5 separate regions of the Homo sapiens genome follow, and all the other regions are linked to region 1. The links are contacts of gene promoters, found by promoter capture Hi-C in blood cells and fetal thymus (Javierre and others, 2016). All regions are on one chromosome and are shown on one strand. The core of a region is centred on a gene start or on the middle of the fragment in contact, and the rest is flanking DNA. Distances in the headings are between cores, read along the strand shown. Region 1 holds the start of CERS6 (ceramide synthase 6). Region 2 overlaps CERS6 (ceramide synthase 6). Region 3 overlaps STK39 (serine/threonine kinase 39). Region 4 overlaps CERS6 (ceramide synthase 6). Region 5 overlaps CERS6 (ceramide synthase 6).

The links. Contacts are between HindIII fragments. The CHiCAGO score rates a contact against its expected background, and 5 or more counts as called.
Region 2: a fragment that was not itself captured here is called in contact with the fragment with the promoter of CERS6 in region 1 in 2 of 17 cell types (non-activated CD4 T cells and naive B cells); the score reaches 5.8 in non-activated CD4 T cells.
Region 3: a fragment that was not itself captured here is called in contact with the fragment with the promoter of CERS6 in region 1 in 2 of 17 cell types (fetal thymus and activated CD4 T cells); the score reaches 9.2 in fetal thymus.
Region 4: a fragment that was not itself captured here is called in contact with the fragment with the promoter of CERS6 in region 1 in 16 of 17 cell types (activated CD4 T cells, naive B cells, fetal thymus and 13 more); the score reaches 15.2 in activated CD4 T cells.
Region 5: a fragment that was not itself captured here is called in contact with the fragment with the promoter of CERS6 in region 1 in 9 of 17 cell types (naive B cells, activated CD4 T cells, total B cells and 6 more); the score reaches 10.3 in naive B cells.

What each region holds. Positions count from the first base shown.
Region 1 is chr2:168,454,750-168,458,652 of GRCh38, reverse strand. It overlaps CERS6 (ceramide synthase 6), which reads right to left and starts at 2,381. Exons shown (of 10, transcript NM_203463.3): 1 at 2,035-2,381. The coding sequence starts at 2,204. It overlaps LOC102724081 (a long non-coding RNA gene), which reads left to right. Exons shown (of 4, transcript XR_002959433.2): 1 at 1-1,622. RefSeq lists silencers at 1,690-1,749, 2,200-2,329, 2,450-2,539, 2,570-2,789. The HindIII fragment of the contact is 1,842 bases long and covers 936-2,777 here.
Region 2 is chr2:168,615,482-168,619,821 of GRCh38, reverse strand. All of the region lies in intron 3 of CERS6 (ceramide synthase 6), which reads right to left. Among named protein-coding and RNA genes, the nearest start is that of MIR4774, 35 kb to the right of the region's middle. The HindIII fragment of the contact is 788 bases long and covers 1,293-2,080 here.
Region 3 is chr2:168,241,865-168,245,911 of GRCh38, reverse strand. The region is part of intron 1 of STK39 (serine/threonine kinase 39); the gene reads left to right. Among named protein-coding and RNA genes, the nearest start is that of STK39, 3.7 kb to the left of the region's middle. The HindIII fragment of the contact is 5,114 bases long and covers 12-4,047 here.
Region 4 is chr2:168,664,761-168,668,754 of GRCh38, reverse strand. The region is part of intron 4 of CERS6 (ceramide synthase 6); the gene reads right to left. Among named protein-coding and RNA genes, the nearest start is that of MIR4774, 84 kb to the right of the region's middle. The HindIII fragment of the contact is 1,442 bases long and covers 855-2,296 here.
Region 5 is chr2:168,595,427-168,599,802 of GRCh38, reverse strand. All of the region lies in intron 3 of CERS6 (ceramide synthase 6), which reads right to left. Among named protein-coding and RNA genes, the nearest start is that of MIR4774, 15 kb to the right of the region's middle. The HindIII fragment of the contact is 1,078 bases long and covers 2,247-3,324 here.

The DNA of each region.
Region 1 (3,903 bases), core at 1,132-3,631:
CTTAGATCAATGGCCTGAAGGAAACTGACCAACTCACTTTATATCAATATGAGGACATTTGCTGTGACTGACAATTGAAAGCAGCTCACCCCTCTATGTAAACTCTAAGTCGAGTCATGGGATTATGGAAAAAAAGAAAGAAAATAAAAAATGTTTAGAAAGAGGAAAAATGAACTTCCAGTTTTCAACTATCACATTAGTGTTTATCTTTTTAGAGGCAGAGACAATCTAAGTACAAAGCCATCTCCATTCTAACAACTTAATTTTTTTAAACACAGTGAACAGCCTGGAATCAGCATAGAGAAGGAGGATGTCAGGAAAATTCGGCTGTTTGTGCACAGATCATGCTTTTGTTCTCCAACACATAAGACTGCACATCTCTTTCAAATGCATTATCTATCTAAAAGTGAGCCCAGCCAGAATTTATCAGACACAATTTATCATAATTCAGCAATTGTGTGTAGATCCCCTACTATGTGCCAACATAGAGCAAACCTGCTATCCCTGAGTCTGCTTGTTTTTGGAGAGCCTGCAAAACTGTATAGAGTTCATATTTTCTGTAACCAAACATTTGCTCTAGAGGTAACTCTACACCTGCAAACACACCCATTTTTTCACAGCACTGCTGTGACTTTTTTGATCCTTTTTTGTATAGGATCAATGACACATCTGTATTAGATTCCAATAATTTAAACATAGGTCTTAAAGTCTGTTGCTTTGTGCATGTCAATTTCTGCAGGCGAACAGCTGACTTCGTTTTCAAGCAACAATACTGTCCGGTGAAAAATATACCTTCCTGAGACAAAAGATACTTTTTGTCCCCATGAAGCTTTGTTGCCTCGTCCAGCAGCAAATGACTCAAAAGACGCGTTCTGCCACCCTCAACAGTCGTTTTCAGGCAAAGAGGAACAGCAAATGAGGTACCAGCAAAAGCTTAAGAAACAAAACCAAGGTGAGTTGAAGGCGGGGAAGAAAGGCGGAGTGGAAGCGAGAAATGCAATCTAAACTCTACTTTGTGATCTAAGAAATTCAGCCTTTACTGATGAATTGGGCAGAGGAAGGGGAGGGTACAAGAAAGGGGAAGATAATATTTTCTGTTACGAAAAAAAAAGTGTGCTGCTGTCCTGGTTTTCTTTCAGTAGCACCCAGAGAATGCATGGCAGGCACAATCTAGTTTCGCGACGAAAACGAATTCCATGAGAATAACACAAGTTTGTATGTGACACAATGGAGATATCCAACCAAACCGAGGAACTATACAATTGCATGACAATTCCTCAAAATTTTAAGTGCCTTCGAGTACCAAAAAAGAAGTTTATGATTATTCACAGGACAGGGTTATCAGTTTAATATCACCATTTTGCAGGATGTGGACCCGTCCTGTCACATCCTCTTTTAAAGAAACCGCTAATAACCTGAAATGCTATTATCCCCTATTTGCCAGGACTGTGGGCCTGATAGTTTCACGGATAAAAACCAAACAGCGACCAGAAGCCAGGAAGTCCCTGGCGAATTCTTTTGAAGCACAACCCCTACAATCCGTGTGCCGGAGCATAAAGATTGAAGTGTGCGCGGTTCCTCCTCCCTCCGGGCCGCGCGTCCGGAACGTTCCTGGCTGTCAGGTGGGTGGCGCGGGCCCCGGCGGGAAGCCCTGCCTGGCAGCCTTGCGTGGCGCGCCGGCGGAGAGGGGCGAGCCCCGCGGAATGCGGCGGGTCCTGAGCCCGACCACCGCTCACCTTTGTTCGCCTGCCCTTGCCGGGAGGAGAGCAGGGCCCAGGAGGAGGGCAGGGGGCGACCCTAACGCTCCGCGGCTCCTCCCCGGCGCCCGGGAGGAAATCCGTGGCAAGCCAGACCCTTTCTGGCTCCCAGAAAGCCAGCGGGGCAGGGGGGTCAGCAACCCCTCCCCGAACACAAAGGTTGGGAGGCGTGAACGCGAGCGTTGGGGGCGCGGGGGCGTGCGCCAGAGAGCGCGCGAGTGTGTGCGCGCGTGTGTGTGCGCAGGGGGAGGGGAGGAGGGGCTTCAGCCCTTCTTACCTCTCGAAGATGAGCCGCACCATGAAGATACAGAAGGCCAGGGGAAAAGCGAGATAGAGGTCCTCAGCCTGCGGGAAGGTGGCCTCCTCCGTGTTCTTCAGGTCCGCCCAGGTGACATTGTGCGGGAGCCAAAACCTCTCGTTCCAGAACCAGGCTAAGATCCCTGCCATCTTGCTTTGTCCACTCCTGTCCTGCGGCACCCGCAGCCCGCCAAGCTCTCCACCGCGCAGGGCGCCCGGGGATGCGCGCCCGGCTGGCCCCGAGCCTGTGCCGCCGCCGCCGCTGCTCCCGCCCGCCGCCGCCGCCTCCTCCGCGGCCGCTGCTCTCGAAGGCTCGCGGCGAGCCCCGGTTCTCTCCTCCCTCTGGCCGCGCTGGGGAAAGGGGCCGCCTTGCCCGTCACATGGCAGCTCGGGCCGCCCGCCCTGATTGGCTCGTCTTCGCGTCAAACAGCGAGGCACACACGCGGCCAACTCGCCCACACCCGCAGGGCAGGGCGCAGTCGCTGCGCCCTGGGCGCAGGGGCACCGCTCCGGGGAGTGTCGCCCGCCCCTGCTCTCACCGCTCTTTCGCTTTGCGCTTAGGGCGACGACCTAAAGTCGACCCCCCAAATCCGCCCTAGCCCCCTGGCTGGCTCGCACATGCTCAGAATGCTGGCTCCTGCCCCGCTGGGGTTTCAGGGCTCTCAGTCCTCTTCCCGTGCGCCCGGAGGCGGTGGGTCAGCAGGTAGGGGCTGCCGCCAAGCTTCAGAACCAGCCCTGCTCCAGGAGGACAGCAAAAAAAAAAAAAGGGGGGGGGAGGGGGAGGGGTAAAGAGCAAAGGAGGAAGTGGGAGGGAAAGGATCCTCCACTCCCGCGCTTGGAGAGGCAGGGTGAAAAATCAGGAACTGAGGCAGGATGGTTTGGCAAGAGCCTTCTGCCTCTGCCCCACGCCTGCCTTTCCCCAATCTTTGACTTTCCGGTCTTTTATACTGCTGCTTCTCATCAAAGTAGCTCCCCCAGGGAACAAGCCCCCCTATATTGATTTATGAGGTGGTACAAAAAATTAGGCACTTAATTGCTATTTGATTATTAATTGCTACTTGATGACGATGATGATGATGATGATGATGATGATAGCAACTGCAGCGTTCTGTAAAACCACCCCTCTCAACTAACCTCTCTGAAAAGGCTGCTAGACCACATTTTGACCTGGCACATCATGAGAACCTCCACTGTGCTACTCGGCAGGCTCATTATTTCTGCCTTTTGAATCTAAAACCTTTAAGGCATTAGGCCTGTGAGGCCTAACCCAGGCACCTTCCCTCCCGCAATGCATTTCCCCATTGATACAGGAGCCATGTGTGAATTCATTCCATGGCCCATGTATACATGGTTCTGGGGCATTTTTGTTCATTTTTCTCACATTCATTTTCTGCCTGGTGCTGCCAGTAGGCTATACTAAACCTTTCCAGTGGGCATATAACCGCACACACACACACACACACACACACAGAGAGAGGGAGTTTCTTTTACTCTTCCCTCCCCTCTTTCCACTCTATCTCTTGAAAGTGAAACTGAAGAATGGCCTATACTGGTGCTTCCAATTTCTCTCCCCTCATTTTCTTTTGAACTTCCATTTGGACATTTGTCTCCTCTGCTGCATTGAAACTGCCCAAGGTCACCTGTGATCTTCATGCTGCTAAACACAAAGGTCAGTTCTTATCTTAGTCCAGGCTGCTTAGACTAGGTGGCTTAAACAGCAGAATTTATTCCTCACGGTTCTGGAGGCAGGGAAGTCCAAGATCAACATGCAGGCAGATCCAGTGTCTGGCAAGGATCCTCTTCCTGGTTTGAAAACAGCTGTTTTCTTGTGTATCCTCACATGGCAGAG
Region 2 (4,340 bases), core at 437-2,936, 160 kb before region 1:
GGATTGCTGGATCAAATGGTTCTACTTTTAGTTCTTTACCATAGTGGCTATAATAGTTTACATTCCCACTAGCTGTGCAGAGGTGTTCCCTATTCACCGCATCCATCTCAACGTCTATTACTTTTTGATTTTATTATGGCCATTCTTGCAGGAATAAGGTGGTATCACATTGTGGTTTTGATTTGCATTTCCCTGATCATTAGTGATGTTGAGCATTTTTTCCTGTTTGTTGGCCATTTGTATATCTTCTTTTGAGAATTCTCTATTAATGTCCTTAACCCACTTTTTGATGGGATTGTTTGATTTTTTTTTCTTGCTGATTTGTTTGAGTTCTTTTTAGATTCTGGATGTTAGTCCTTTGTCAGATGTATAGATTGCGAAGATTTTCTCCCACTCTGTGGGTGCTCTATTTACTCTGCTGACTTCCTTTTGCCATGCAAAAGTTCTTTAGTTTAATTAAGTCCCAGCCATTTCTCTGTTTTTTCTGCATTTGCTTTTAGGTTCTTGGTCATGAAAAACTTGCTTAAGCCAATGTCTAGAAGGGTTTTTCCAATGTTATCTTCTGGAATTTTTAAGTTTCAGGTCTTAGATTTAAGTCCTTCATCCATCTTGAATTGAGTTTTGTAGATGAGAGATGAGGATCCAGTTTCATTCTCCTACATGTGGCTTCCCAATTATCCCAGCACTATTTGTTGAATAGGGTGTCCTTTCCCCACTTTATGTTTTTGTTTCCTTTGTTGAAGATAAGTTGGCTGTAAGTATTTGGCTTTATTTCTGGTTCTCTGTTCTGTTCCATTGGTCTATGTATCTATTTTTATACCAGTACCATGCTGTTTTGGTGACTATGGCCTTATAGTATAGTTTGAAGCCTCCAGATTTGTTCTTTTGCATAGTCTTGCTTTGGCTATGTAGGCTCTTTTTTGGTTCCATATAAATTTTAGGATTGCTTTTCTAGTTCTGTTAAGAATGATGGTAGTATTTTGATGGAAATTGCACTGAATTTGTAGATTGCTTTTGGCAGTATGGTCATTTTCACAATATTTATTCTACCCACCCATGAGCATGAGATGTGTTTCCATTTGCTTATGTCATCTATGATTTACTTCAGCAGTGTTTTGCAGTTTTCCTTGTAGAGGTCTTTCACCTTCTTGGTTAGATATATTCCTAAGTATTTTATTCTTTTTGCAGCTACTGTAAAAGGGGTTGATTTCTTCATTTGATTCTCCACTTGGTCGCTGTTGGTGTATACGAGAGTTACTGACTTGTGTACATTAATTTTGTATCCAGAAGCTTTGCTGAATTTTTTATCAGTTCTAGGAGCTTTTTGGAGGAGTCTTTAGGGTTTTCCAGGTATATAATCATATCATCAGCAAACAGCCACAGTTTGACTTCCTTGTGACTGATTTGGATGCCTTTTATTTCTTTCTCTTGTCTGATGGCTCTGGCTTGGATTCCAGTACTATGTTGAAGAGAAGTGGTGAAAGTGGGCATCCTTGCCTTGTTCCTGTTTTCAGAGGGAATGCTTTCAACTTTTCCCCATTCAGTATTATTTTGGCTCTGGGTTTATCATAGATGGCTTTTCTTACATTCAGGTATGTCTGCTGAATGCCAATTTTGCTAAGGGTTTTAAACATAAAGCCATGCTGGATTTTGTCAAATGCTTTTTCTTGGTCTATTGAGATGATCGTGTGATTTTTGTTTTTATTCTGTTTATGTGTTGTATCACATTTATTGACTGATGTATGTTAAACCACTCCTGTATCCCTGGTATGAAACTCACTTGATTATGCTGGATTATCTTTTTGACATGTTGTTGGATTTGGTTAGCTAGTACTTTGTTAAGGATTTTTGCATGTATGTTCATCAGGGATATTGGTCTGTAGTTTTCTTTTTTGGTTATGTCCTTTCTTGGTTTTGGTATTAGGGTGACACTGGCTTCACAGAATGATTTAGGGAGAATTCCTTCTTTCTCTACCTTGTGGAATAGAGTCAATAGGATTGGTACCAATCGTACTTTGAATGTCTGGTAGAATTCAGCTGTGAATCCATCTGGTCTTGGACTTTTTTTTGTTGCTAAGCTTTTAATTACCATTTGAATCTCACTGCTTGTTATTGGTCCGTTCAGGGTGTCTAATTCTTCCTGATTTAAGCTAGGAGGGTTGTATCTTTCCAGGAATTTATCTATCTCCTCTAGGTTTTCTGGTTTACGGGTGTAGAGGTGTTTATAGTAGCCTTGAATGATCTTTTGTATTTCTGTAGTGTCAGTTGTAATACCTCCTGTTTCATTTCTAATTGAACTTATTTGGATTTTCTCTCTTCCTTTCTTGGTTAATCTTGCTAATGGTCTATTAATTTTCTTTATCTTTCCAAATAACCAACATTTTATTTCATTTATCTTTTGCAATTTTTTTTGTTTCAATTTCATTTAGTTCTGCTCTGATTCTGGTTATTTCCTTTCTTCTGCTGGGTTTGGGTTTGGTTTGTTCTTGCTACTCCAGTTCCTTGAAGTGTGATCTCAGAATGTCCGTGTGTGCTCTTTCAGACTTTTTGATGTAGGCATTTAGGGCTATGAACCTTCCTCTTAGCACCACCTTTGCTGTATCCCAGAGGTTTTGACAGGTTGAGCCACTATTGTCATTCAGTTTGAAGAATTTTTAAATTTCCGTCTTGATTTCATTTCTGACCCAATGATCATTCAGGAGCAGGTTATTTAATATCCATGTATTTGCATGGTTTTGAAGGTTCCTTTTGGAGTTGATTTCCACTTTTATTCTGCTGTGGTCTCAGAGAATGTTTGATATAATTTCAATTTCCTTAAATTTATTGAGACTTTTGTGGCCTATCATATGGTCTGTCTTGGAGAAGGTTCCATGTGCTGATGAATCAAATGCATATTCTGTGGTTGTTGGGTAGCATGTTGTGTAAATATCTATTAAGTCCATTTGTTCCAGGGTATAGTAAAAATACATTGTTTCTTTGTTGACTTTCTGTCTTGATGACCTGTCTAATGCTGTCAGTGAAGTACTGAAGTCCCCACTATTACTGTGTTGCCATCTATCTCGTTTCTTAGGTCTAGTAGTAACTGTTTATAAATTTGGGAGCTCCAGTGTAAGGTGCATAAATATTTAGAATTGTGACATTTTCCTGTTGGACAAGGCCTTTTATCATTATATAATGTTCCTCTTTGTCTTTTTTAACTGCTGTTGCTTTAAAGTTTGTTTTGTCTAATATAAGAATAGCTACTCCTGCTCGCTTTTGGTGTCCATTTGCATGGAAAGTCTTTTTCCACTCCTTTACCTTAAGTTTATGTGAGTCCTTATGTATTAGGTAAGTCTCTTGAAGGCAGCAATAGTTGGTTGGTGAATTCTTCTCCATTCTGCCATTCCGTATCTTTTAAGTGGAGCACTTAGGCCATTTACATTCAATGTTAGTATTGAGATGTGAGGTACTATTGCATTCATTATGCTATTTATTGCCTGTATACCTTGGATTTTTATTTTTTTTTCCTAAATTGTATTTTTGTTTTATAGATCCTGTGAGATTTATGCTTTAAAGAGGTTCTGTTTTGATGTGTTTCCAGAATTTGTTTCAAAATTTAGAGCTCCTTTTAGCAGTTCCTGAAGTGCTGGCTTGGTAATGGCAAATTCTCTCAGGATTTGTTTGACCGAAAAAGACTGTATCTTTCCTTCATTTGTGAAGCTTAGTTTCACTGGATACAAAACTTTCGGCTGATAATTGTTTTGTTTGAGGAAGCTGAAGATAGGTCTCCAATCCCTTCTAGCTTGTAGGATTTCTGCTGAGAAATCTGCCGTAAATCTGATAGGTTTTCCTTTATAGGTTACCTGGTGCTTTTGCCTCACAGCTCTTAAGATTCTTTCCCTCGTCTTAACTTTAGACTACCTGATGACAGTGTGCCTAGGCGATGATCTTTTTGTGATGAATTTCCCAGATGTTCTTTGTGTGTCTTGTATTTGGATGTCTACGGCTCTAGCAAGGCCAAGGAAGTTTTCCTCGATTATTCTCCCCAATATGTTTTCCAAACTTTTAGATTTCTCTTCTTCCTCAGGAACACCGATTATTCTTAGGTTTGGTCATTTAATGTAATCCCAGATTTCTGGGAGGCTTTGCTCATTTTTTCTTAGTCTTTTTTCTTTGTCTTTGTTGGACTGTGTTAATTCAAAAACCTGTCTTCAAGCTCTGACACTCTTTTTTCTGCTTGTTCGACTCTATTGCTGAGACTTTCCAGAGCATTTTGCATTTCTTTCGTGCATCCAGTATTTCCTAAAGTTTTTATTGTATTTTATTTATGCTGTCTATTTCACTAAAGATTTCTTCCCTCA
Region 3 (4,047 bases), core at 1,319-3,818, 210 kb after region 1:
ATATACAAGCTTCAGATAACCTATAATAGGCATCTGTAGACAAAATTCTTTGAAAACCCAGATCTTTCATAATTTTTGACCAAAGACTCTAAAGGGATGAGTCTTCATGTCACTGCCTGAAATAGCTTCAGGGGCTTCTCAAAGCCTGGAATATTCCATGGAAACCTCTTTAACCTGGCATATAGGCCCTGTACCCTCAACCTGCCTGCCTCCTCCCATTGTCTACTCTTCAGTGATTGCTTCCTGAATACACCGCTGTCTTCCGCACATCTGGTCTTCCATTCTTTGCTGCCTTGCAGAGGCTCTTCCCTCCTGTGAGTGCCCATCTTTGTGTACTAAATCTCACTCCGCTTCCAAGGTGAGTGTGAATATTCCTTGAAAAGCCTTCTGCTTCTTTCAAGGCAAAATGCCGTGGTTTCTTCTGCCCCTCTTTTTACAGACCTCATAGCATGTAACCTCATAGTTGTTATTTGCGCAACAAGATCTGAAGGCCTGCTGTGTCCCAAGCATTGCCCCACTTGCTAGCAATATAGAAATTAACAAAAGTGATCCCTGCCCTAAGTTGTTAGGAGACATAGGGAAAGGATCCTATAGGATGTGATGAGTAAGTACTGGGAGAGCCCGAAGGAGGGAGTGACTGCCAGGAAAGAGAAGGAAGCAGAGTATTTCTTAGTAGAGGTCGTAGTTGAGCTGGGTTTTAAGTCTGAGTTTGTAAGGTGCTTAATTATTTCCACTGTTGCCTTCACTAACCAGCTGTGAACTCTGACAGGAAGAGGTGGGCCATAAAAGTTGAATAATGGTATCTGCCACATAATTCTCCATAGAGTCCATAGGATTGGGAGAAGTTATAATCAATTTATATACCTACTTGGTCAATTATTAGGGTTAAAATACAAACGTTGCCTTTTGAAAACAGTATTTTTTTGTGAACTAATAAAATCTTAGTTTAAGTTGAGTGGGATTAATGGCAGGACTTCTTTCTGTTTGCAGTCCCAGCAGTGTTAATTATGGTTGGTCAGTTTAGTGGAAAAAAAGAAATTTACCTGAGGAATTTGAGAACAAAAACACCTGCTTATTCTACCCTGACTTTTGCGCATTTGCATTGTGGGAAGGGCTTTTCTACATTTAAAGTTTATCTCATATTTTCCCAACTAAAAGAGAAAGAGTTGGCCTGTGTGGAGGCCCTGTTATTGAAAAATCAAATTGCTGGAATAGGTTTTTCGCAAGGGCTTAATGTTTATAAGGAATTACAAACCTGTTTCCATTTAGGGTTTAATGCTAGTTGAGAGATTAAGACTGAACTTGTGGTTAAGCACTTTTGCTTAAACATTACACGCAGAAGTTAGCAGTTCAAACACTGAACCAGTTTCAACATGAATGCCAGTTGACAGCCTTTGCTTCTACCCGCCATACGGCAGGTGTCATATGATATGACTCCAGCAGTGTGAACCGTGACCAGCAGCAGGAGGCTCAGATGTGCCTGAACAGAAAACCAAAGGAGGCACCGTGTTTTAACTTTCCAGCATGGCACGGGCACGGAGGACTTTTTCTTCATTTCCTTCTGGGCAGAGTTTGGTCCCCCAGGATTAAGAGAGAATAAGTTTACTAAAATCCAAACAAAGCAGGTTCAGTTGTTTGACTTCAGTTTTAGAAAAATAAACACAGGATTTTGCAAACCTAAAAATAAAGTTTTCTCTTTATTGTATTGTTGTTCTTGTGTTTTAAAACGTCAGTGGAGAAATTGTAATGCTCTTAGGAGTATTCTGGTTCATAAGTTTATTCATGACCTGGAAATGATGTAAAATCGATGGGAGGGAGCTTTATATTTACAGAGGGGTTAAAAATGTTGGAAATTATTAAATTCCTTCTTCCAGACATTGATATCCTTGTCTTAGTAGATTTCAAATATTTCTGTCTTTTTGGAGGCTTTCCGACCTGTTTATACTCTTCAGCCTTGTTAATCTTTGTTCCTTACCTCTCTAAAGAAGGAATTTGGGGGTGAGTTGAGCCCCCAAAAGTAGGTACCCCTACCTTTAGAAGTATAAGGGGCACTTAAAGCTATGCCAGTTGAAAACTTAGTTTATTTGTTGGGGGTGTTAATAATATTACCTAGATTTGCTAAACAGGGAATGAAAGTGAATCATATAAGTGTTTACTTGGCCATCCGTAATGGAATGGAGCAGCCTCAATGAACTTCTCATTCAAAGAATTGTAGTCATTGAAGTACTAATTTCTGTATTTGAATTAGGTGATTCCAGCAATGTTGTTATCTTTGCTGAATTTCTTCTGAGAAACCCTAGACTCCTGCCTCAGCAGGAGTTTGTTTGATTTTCTTAGGGTTTTTGCAGGATGCACCTTTCTTTATGTAGTTTTATACTAGATTTCTCAGCATTGCTTCACTTTTGTCCCGGGTGGTCATTTAGAATGACCTAAAAGTAACAAATTGCCATCTTAGTCAACACGAAGAATTTGAGTTCTAGAATCCTGGACATGGTTTGACAGAGGGTTCCTTTGAATGCTTTATTTCTCTCCTGTGAGGCATTGTTTATCCATTCAGGTGCGTTTTACTCAGGTCCAGGTAATAGCACATATGGCCAGGTCTTTAAGGAGCAACAGCCTCTTGTAAAATGAGATTGTAAATAGCCCTGGGCATTCCCACTTTGCTCTGTGCTCTCAGAGTTTCTGTGGATTTCTATGGTTTGGGGGTTAGAATTGGTTTTTATAGATATCCTAGAGGCAGTTTGAGGACAGTGGTACCTTCGCTGGCGCTAGGGTAAGGGAGCCGGAGCACTGAGTGTGTTCTGATCTCCCAGACCTTTATACCAGGCTGCCTTGCTGCTGCAGTGGGTTCTTTGATCTTGATTAGTTTGTTTGTTGTTGTTTTTAAAATACTAAATGATGTCTGAAATGCTTTGTCTCAAGACAGGGCTTTGATTTTCATTTCATTTCACTTTCTTTTTTAATAAATAGAAAAATGTATATAGAAATGTTCTTTTGTATTTTGTATTTTTTTTTTTTTGATAAAGGGTCTCACTCTGTCACCCAGGCTAGAGTGCAGTGGTGCAATCATACCTCACTGCAGCCTCGAACTCTTGGGCTCAAGTGATCTTCCCACATCAGCCTCCTGAGTAGCTGGGTCTATAGGTGCAAACCATCATGCCTGCCTAATTTTTTTTTTCTTTTTTTATTTTTAAGAAATGGGGGTCTCACTATGTTGCCCAAGCTGCTCTTGAACTCCTCCGCTCAGCGATGCTCCGGCCTTGGCTTCCCAATGTGTTGGGATTACAGGCGTGAGCCACTGTGCCTGGCCTCTTTATATATATATATATATATATATATATATATATATATTTTTTTTTTTTTTTGTAAGAGTCTTGCTCTGTTGCCTGGGCTAGATTGCAGTGGCGCCATCTCAGTTCACTGCAGCCTCTGCCTCCTAGGTCCAAGCAGTTCTCCTGCCTCAGCCTCCCGAGTAGCTAGTATTACAGGCCTGGCTAATTTTTGTATTTTTTGATAGAAACAGGGTTTCACCATGTTGGCCAGGCTGGTCACAAACTCCTGGTCTGAAGTAACCCGCCTGCCTCAGCCTCCCAAGTTGCTGGGATTACAGCGTGAGTCACTGTGCCCGGCCTCTTTTGTATTATTTTTATTGTGGTAAAATATACACAACAAAAATTGTACCATTTTAACCGTTCTTAAAGTGTGCAATTCAGTAGCATTAATTATATTTACAAGATAAATACTCTTTTAAATGTGCTGTCATGGGGCTGGGGGGAGAGATCTCAAGATCTCTCTTGAAACTGTGGTAAAGTGACTGCAATCCTTTATTTATGCATTTGATTTTTAACTAGTGATATTATGAATTCTTCCCTGACTTTTATGGTTTATTGTATAGTACATTTTGTGATGGTGTTTGAAAATAAGTTGCAGCAGTGCCGGCTCTGGAGTCTGACAGCCTGGCCTGTTTCATGTCCTGCAATGGCGGTCACTGACGCTGCGACCTTGAGCAAATGACTTAGATGTGTCTGCACTCAGTTTCCTCATTGG
Region 4 (3,994 bases), core at 326-2,825, 210 kb before region 1:
CAGCCTGGCATGGTGGCTCACAGCTGTAATCCCAGCACTGTGGGAGGCCGAGGTGGGCAGATTACCTGAGGTCAGGAGTTCGGGACCAGCCTAGCCAACACGGTGAAACCCCATCTCTACTAAAAAAATTAAGAAAAATAATTGGCTGGGCACGGTGGCAGGTACCTGTAATCCCAGCTACTCGTGAGACTGAGGCAGGAGAATTGCTTGATCTCAGGAGGCAGAGGCTGCAGTGAGTACAGATTATGCCACTGAACTCCAGCCTGGGCGACAGAATGAGACTCTGTCTCCAGAAAAAAAAAAAAAAAAAGATAGAGTTGGAAATGGAGTGCAAGCAATGAACTAAAGCTCCATTCACAGAAGGACTCCTTAGGACATGCTGTCTTGTTGACCATGGAATAATGGATAAAGAGGAGGTAAATATGATCCCAAGATCTCTAGCTTGGGTGACTGCTGCAGATGGTGAGACCATAAATAAGATGAGGAAAATCAGAGTAGGAATAATGGGGTTAGGAAAGAGAATGAGTTTGGTTTTGTCATTGAAGAACATTTGAGATTACCTATGGGATACAATGCAAAGTCAAGAAGAAAATCAGAAAAGAGGCTGGTAATCCAGGTTCACTTGTTCTTCTGCATTTGAAAAACATCTGTTGATTCCACACCAATTACTCAATAAAGCCCGGGCTCCTTATCATGATTTCAACCTCAAATCGATTTACAACTTACGATCTGCCCTCCACCTACTTTTTCAGATTTGTCTGTTAACATCTCTGTCTCTGCCTACAAGGCCCCACCAAATACAAATATTATGCTCAAGTCACACATGACTGTTCAGAGGTTCCCCCAAACAAGCTTCACAGAAGGTCCCTCCATGCATATTTCTTTCACAATATGTATCCATTTTACTTTAAATATCTGTTCACCTGTCTGCCTCCCATACTAGACAGAACTATTTGAAGGTCTAGCCTATTATCTTGGATGTAGTAAATTAAAACTGATAAGCACACCAATACTTAATTAACGGAGGCTCACACCCGATACCTGTATTTTTGCTTCCTCCATTTTCCTTATCTGGAACACAGAAAGGAATCAATGATGACTCCGAGTTGTCAGGGCTGGGTGAATAATGCAGTAGTGTCATCCATTAGAGAGAACATATTTAAAAAAAAAGATAGAAAAAAAGCCGCCTAATAGCCAACAGAAGCAGAGAGCTTTATATAAGAAAAGAGGAACAAATGCACTCAAGTCTCTGATAACTTTTATTTCATGTGACAAAACATATCGAGTGCAGAATTGATAGCTCACATTTGGTAAAGGCAGGCAGGAGAGTGTGACATGGAAGAAGGCTCAAGAGGCAGGGCTGGGCTTGGGTGGATAAAGAAAAGCACTACAGGAAACCTCTCTAAGCCACCAGAACACAATGGCCACTTTACCTATAAAACAGAACTGAGATGCTGTGCTACTTGTTCACCCTCGCCTGTGCAAGAAACTGACAAAGTGCACGGGCAGATAAGATCTGGGGTTTTCCTGCTTAAAGGTTTTCTAAATGTCACTAGGACAGCATGGAACATCCACCTGTTAAACACAGAAAATCCCAATCCGAAATATATTGCTTTGCTTAATTTATAATGAAAAGAAAAAATAAAATAATGACAAGCTATAGTGTAGAAAACAGAGGAGCCTTATCCATGTCATATGTGAAAACTTTTGCCAGCTTTTTGTGACATAAATCTTATTTTTGGTGAGAATTAACAAAGATTATCAAATGTATGTAGATTACCTCTTAACTGGCATGATATAGCACAATATAAACACAAGATATGCATTATTAATATTATGACATGCTGACAGCATGAGAACTCGTTTGAGCCCTTGAGAAACAGTGTCTTCTTAGTTTATGAATATCTCAGGCCTTTTATACACAGCATTGGAATATGGTTTTAGGAGACTCCAAGAGAGGAGAACCTGAAAAAGGAAACGTGGCACCACTCATGCATGCCTCACTCAAATTTAAACTGCTTCTCAATGTGGGTTCTCAATGCAGGCCCTTTATAAAGACACAGTGAAAATGAATATTGTTTGACCTAGCAATCACACTCCTTGGTATTTATCCAAATGAACTGAAGACTCACGCCCACATGAAAACATTCACATAAATGTTTATACCAAAATATTGAAGCAACCAAGATGTCTGTCAGATGAATACACTGTGGTATATACACACAATGGAATATGATTCAGAGGTAAGAAGAAAAGAAGTGAGCCATCAAACCACAAAACAGACATGGAAGAAGCTTAAATGCATACTACTAAGTGAAAGAGGCCAATCTGAAAAGTCTACATATTGTATGATTCCAATTATATGACATTCTGAAAAAGGTAAAACTTTGGAGAAAGTAAGAAGATGAGTGGTTGCCAGGTCTAGGGAGGAAGGAAGGGATGAACAGGCAGAGAAGAAAATTTTTAAGGCAACAATGCTACTCTCCATGACAGTGTAATGGTGGATGCATGTCATTATACATTTGTCCAGATCCATAGAATATACAACACTAAGAGTGAACCTTAATGTAAACTATGCACTTTAGCCAACAATAGTGTTTTAATATTGGCTCATCAACTGTAACAAAAGTACCACTAATAATGCAAGATGTAAATAAAAGGGAAAACTGGGGAGTGCAGGGGTCAGGGGGTGATGATGGCAGGGTGAAGGGTATATGGGAATACTCCATATTTTCCATTCAATTTTTCTCTAAACCTAAAACTACACACACACACACACACACACACACACACACACACACAGTCTACTAATTTTTTAAAAAAATTCTTAAAACCTCCAAGTTATTTAATAACATCACTTTGCCAACAGAAAATGTGAGCAGCTTGGAAGATAATATGCCATAATAATTCAGAGTATATAACTTCTTGAGCTAGACCTCTTGGGCTCAAACTGTAGTTCGTTCACTTACTAGTTGCATAATCTTGTTTTATTTCAGTGAGAGTTTACTGACTACTGTATGTCAGTCACTGTTGTAGGTATGTAGTATACAGCAGTGAACATGTAAAGATACTTGGCCTCACAGAGCTTCTATTTTACTGTGCAGAGCAGGCAAAATAAATCAACAGATAAATACAGTAAGAGAGAAGGTGATGAGCATGTTGGAAAAATGAAAATGAAGAGAAGGTTAAGGGGGAGATTAGGTTACTAGGGAGGGCTGGGGAGTATTTCCTCATCTGTTAATGAGAGATACAATAGTTCCCACCATCCGAGGGTGCTGTGTGTCCCATGAGATCTCCCATGGGACGAGCTTCCACAAACAGCACTTACCTGGCTCAGTCAGCAAAGGCAGCCTCTTATTACAATTATTGCTAAGCAAAAACTTAAGTAATTGGTAGTAAATGTTTAAATAACTTATGTTATACCCACCGTATTTCAATTCCTTATTTTTTTTTTCATAAAATGCTAGAGCAGAAGCTAGTATCATGGGAAGTCTAAAATTTAAATACCTTAAGAGACTCATACACTTCAGGAAAAATGAACACTTGTAGAATTTGTGGCTGTTTACCAGTAAAAACCATCTTTTCATTTACCTTTCCATTCACTTCTGCCAAGAAACCTCATATATGATTGTTGAAGGATCCTAGAAAAGATGTGGCAACTGTGTTTGTGTAGGTTAGATTTGGCTGCAAAGAAGAGAAAAACTCAAAGAAACAGAAGCTCAAGACAAGGTAGGCATTCATTTGTTTTGTAAAAAGCCTGGAGACAGTGATCCAGGGCAGGTATCATAGTACCATGATGTCATCAGGGACCTGGGTTCTTCCTGTCAGAGGCGTGTGAACCAGAGTAACTCCATCTTAAATAGGAGCTGGGTAAAATGAGGCTGAAACCTACTGGGCTGCACTCTCAGACGGTTAAGGCATTCTAAGTCACAGGATGAGATAGGAGGTCAGCACAAAATACAGGTCATAAAGACGTTGCTGATAAAACAGTTTG
Region 5 (4,376 bases), core at 1,536-4,035, 140 kb before region 1:
GTGACATTTAAATGTCCACAGTGAAGCTCAAGACAATATTCTTAATAAATTAGGTGCTTTATAACCTGGAAGGATTGATAGATGGTCCTCAAACTATATATATAACCTCAAGCATATATAAAACCAACATAAAGCTCTCAAATGTTACACAGATCTCAAATGAATGTCAACAAATGATCTCTTTCCTGAAGTTATCTCTCAAGAACAATGTTTTCTAATCGGGGTTACTAACCTACTTAAATTCAGAAGTCTTTCAGGACAAGATAATAAACCCTAGCACTCACAGTTGGATTTACTCCGACAATGTTCGTTTTAAAATGAGTTGATATTTCCTTTGTTCTTTAAGTGTACCTGCATTCTTATTTTGGGCCAGAGAAAAAATGCAAATAGAAAAATACAGAAAGGATAAGAATTTACTGCCCTTCTTCAAAAAGAAACAAACTATGGGAAGCATTTCTAGGATAATCACCTCAAAAATATACTCATAACTATGTTTTAGATGTCCCTGGAAGGAAAAGGAGTGAGAAATAGGATGTGAGAGGATTGGGGGGAGAAAAGAACCACACAGAGCACAACTGTACCAAGAATTTTCCTCCACCCAGAGAAGCAGCCTATTTTCCCATGCTCTGCAAGGTAACCTGAGTCAATTTGCTTAACCTTTCAAAGCAACATTTCCTTAAATGTTGAAAACAGAGTTGGCAGAAGAGTAGGTTATGCCTCTAATGCCCTAGCCTACATCGCAGAATTGTTGTGAAGATGGAATTAAACAATGCTCACGAAAGTTCCTTGAAAATCACAGAGCTACACAAATGTCAAGTGCTGTTATTACCACAGCCTGCTTCCTCTCCTGAGCCTCTTCTGACATGTGTTTCTCTTGCTAGAGAGGCAGAAAAGGTCTCCAGAGAGGTGAATTAGTTGTGACCATGTTCCAGTAAGATTCTTCTATACCTACTCTATCCAAACTTACCAGATTCTAAAAAGAAAATGTTCATATTAATTGTTCTATGTTGTATCACCGCAATATTTGACACCACTTTAAACAAATTAAGATTAAAAAAAGATTAAGGGATAGCTCTATATTGCAGAAGTGAAGATTGAAGACAATCTTGTAAGCTACGTTATTAAATTTTCTTTCTGTACTGGTTGGGGAATTGGGACCTTTTTTTTCACTAATCCTGTAGTTTTATTAGATATGATGGCATTATATTCTTGGATTGCCACATATTAATCATTTAGGGTTTACGAGTACCATGTGATAATCATTAGGCTATTTAAATTTCCCATATTCCAGTAAACCACTATTTTTTTGCCCCTTGCCATTATTTTTTTTTACCATCAAAAATATATAGGAATGCATAACAAGGAAATAAATAATTTGGCCAGTAGATGTGGAAAAGAAAAAAAAAAGAAAACTCTCTGGTTAATTACTATGCCACGTATAAACTGAAGATATGTTTTCTCTTCCCCCCAAAAACGAGGTTGCCATATATTCAAGTCATTACAGTCTCTTATTTATAGACTACTCTCTCAAGCACTTTATTTAGAACAAAGAAGTATTCCTTGAAGACACTCAAATCTGAAACAACTTCAATCAATGCCAGTTTGAGATGCTCAAGAAGGTCAGCTGATGGAAGCAGCTATTCTAAGGGAGCAAAGAAATTTAACAAATACTTAAGGCATTATCTCTAGGGTGGTGACTTCATAATTGTTTGTATTAGATATCACTGTAAACAAACCTTTTAAAGATCCCTCTTAAGGGGAGGACAGAAAAGAGTTACACGTGGAAGATCCTCAACATACACCTATAGATAAAGGACAAAAAAAAGTCTGAAAGAGAGGCAAAGAGTGCTAAGGCCTGAGTTAACATTTACAGAAATAACTTCTTACATGGATTCCAAACACATTAAAGTCTATGCAATTTAGACGGGAGGGAAGAGAAGGCACTCTGGCACACTGTCCTAGATGACTCTGAGGTAGCTCCTCTGACAAAGACATGATGTCAAAGGTGCAAATACAGGCTTTGAATAAATTATTTCATGAAAGTAAATAGGAAAAGCATTATGTCTAAATAAACATATTAATGTTATTAATATACATATCAATTGTTTCATCTCTAAAACTTTACATATTCAAGGTGGCCCCAGAATATTTTGTATCATTGGGAAACTGGAGGATGTGTCTTATAGCTAAGGGCACCCTACCTTCAACCATCTATGGTTATCTGGGAATTGAAAAAAGTAGAAGCTTGTATGGCAGATGCACCTGACGGCAATATCTTAAGCATACCCTGAGAATGACCCTGTAAGGCAGACACACCTGAATGTGTCTTCAGAGTTCTGAGCTAAGGAATCCGGGAGTGGTCATCCGACAGATTCATTACTTATTTATGTGGAACATCTGAACCCCTGGCCTGTCCATGGAATGAGAGTGTGCAGGGGAAAGATCCTCTTTGTTTTGGATTAAGTGGAGGTTGCCAGGCAGAGGTTGTTAGAGGGTGCTTTAAATATTATATAAATTGTATACTTTTTACAAGCATGCAATTTATATAATAAATAATGCTCTACTGTCAAGCCTGCTGCCACCAGACTGTCCCTGTATGTAAGTTCCCTCCAATAAAACCCTATGTCTTGTTCACTGGCTCCAGGTCTCTTCTTCAGCCTCAAACCTGGCGCCATCCCTACTGAAGTCAATAGGGGCCTGACACGACAAAGCTAAACTCATAGCAGTGTGAAAGTGAGTCAGAGATTAGTCAGAATATTGACTTCAATGTTCACCAATTGGAGTTCAAGAAGCAGGAAAGACGCCATGAACACAGTATTGTATTTTTAGAGAGAATAGGTAGAGTATATGCACTTTTGCTACAATAAAAGGATTCTTGAATTCAGTTTATATTAGAGCAAACAAAAAGTTTCATGAACTCTAAGAGCATTTGCTCTTAACTCCAAATTTTGTGCATCAACAAAGGGATGGGAGCCGGGCATGGTGGTTCACACCTGTAATTCCAGCACTTTGGGACGCCAAGCGTTCATGATCAGCCTGGCCAACATGGTGAAACCCCATCTCTATTAAAAACACCAACAAATTTGCCGGGTATGGTGGCACGCACCTGTAATCCCAGCTACTCGGGAAGCTGAGGCAGGAGAACCACTTGAACCAGGGAGGTGGAAGTTACAGTGAGCCAAGATTGCACTACTACACTCTAGTTTGGATGATAGAGTGAGACTCAGTCTCAAAAAAAAAAAAAAAAGGGGGGGGGATGGGGCCCTGAAACAATGATTTAATGAATGAAGGCAAGTAAAAAAGCCACTGTACTGAATATAAGCTTTTCTTTTAATCTCACATTTTCCCACTCATGTTACGTTCTGCCAAAGCCATTCATCTACATTTCCCTGAACAATTTCTGGAAGGAGGCTGGGAAGCCCAGTAAAAACTACACCAAGAAGACAACAACCCCTCCCCCCAATCCCCCGCCCACACACATAATCTGGTCTCCACCCTATTGAGGTCCCATTCCACATGACCCTGTGATCAGCAATAAACTTGGTACCCTCAATAAGATCCAAAACCAAAGCCACTCATCTTATAACCACAGAACCTCTTCTCTTTGTGGTTCATGACTAGGATCCAAGTCTACTAGCCAGATGCATAAACATTTACAAACAAATATTGAATTTTGGCAGTTTAATGATAATTTTTATTTTTATCCTTTTTTTTTTTTTTGAGACAGGGTCTCGCTTTGTTGCCCAGGCTGGTCTTGAACTCCTGGGCTCACATGATCCTCCTGCCTTGGCCTCCCAAAGTGCTGGAATTACAGGCGTGAGCCACCACGCCTGGCCTAATAATAATTTTTAACGTCTTGCCAATTTGGGCACCTTTCCTTTACATCTGGAAGAAAATATGAAGTCCGCTTAAGTCTACTTACATTGAACAATAAGGTCTGCCAAAAAGAAAAAAAACATACAATTCTTCTTTTTGATCTCCACAAATCTTAAATAACTATGTAAACAGCAACATAACTTTTTTCCAATTATAAGGCAATATTCATGTGAGTCAAACATTAGATGTTATTTGATGTCTGTATAAAGACAAGGTAAAGATGATATCAATTCAAACCATTACAATTTGCTGCAATACATCTGAATGTATAATGAAAATGTTAAATGAGAGATACTCTTCGTAAGTACCATCAGCCTTAAATTTAAGTTTACATTTTAATGCTGTCACTAAAATCAGCCAATTAAAATTGGTATTATACATAATCCAATGTAAGGAGATTCAGGATTAAAAAAGAGAATAAAGAGATAAAGGAATGAATGCAATTGTGGTATTTATACCTTTTCTTTCAATCATTGATTTTTACACTCCCCAAAGTGTCT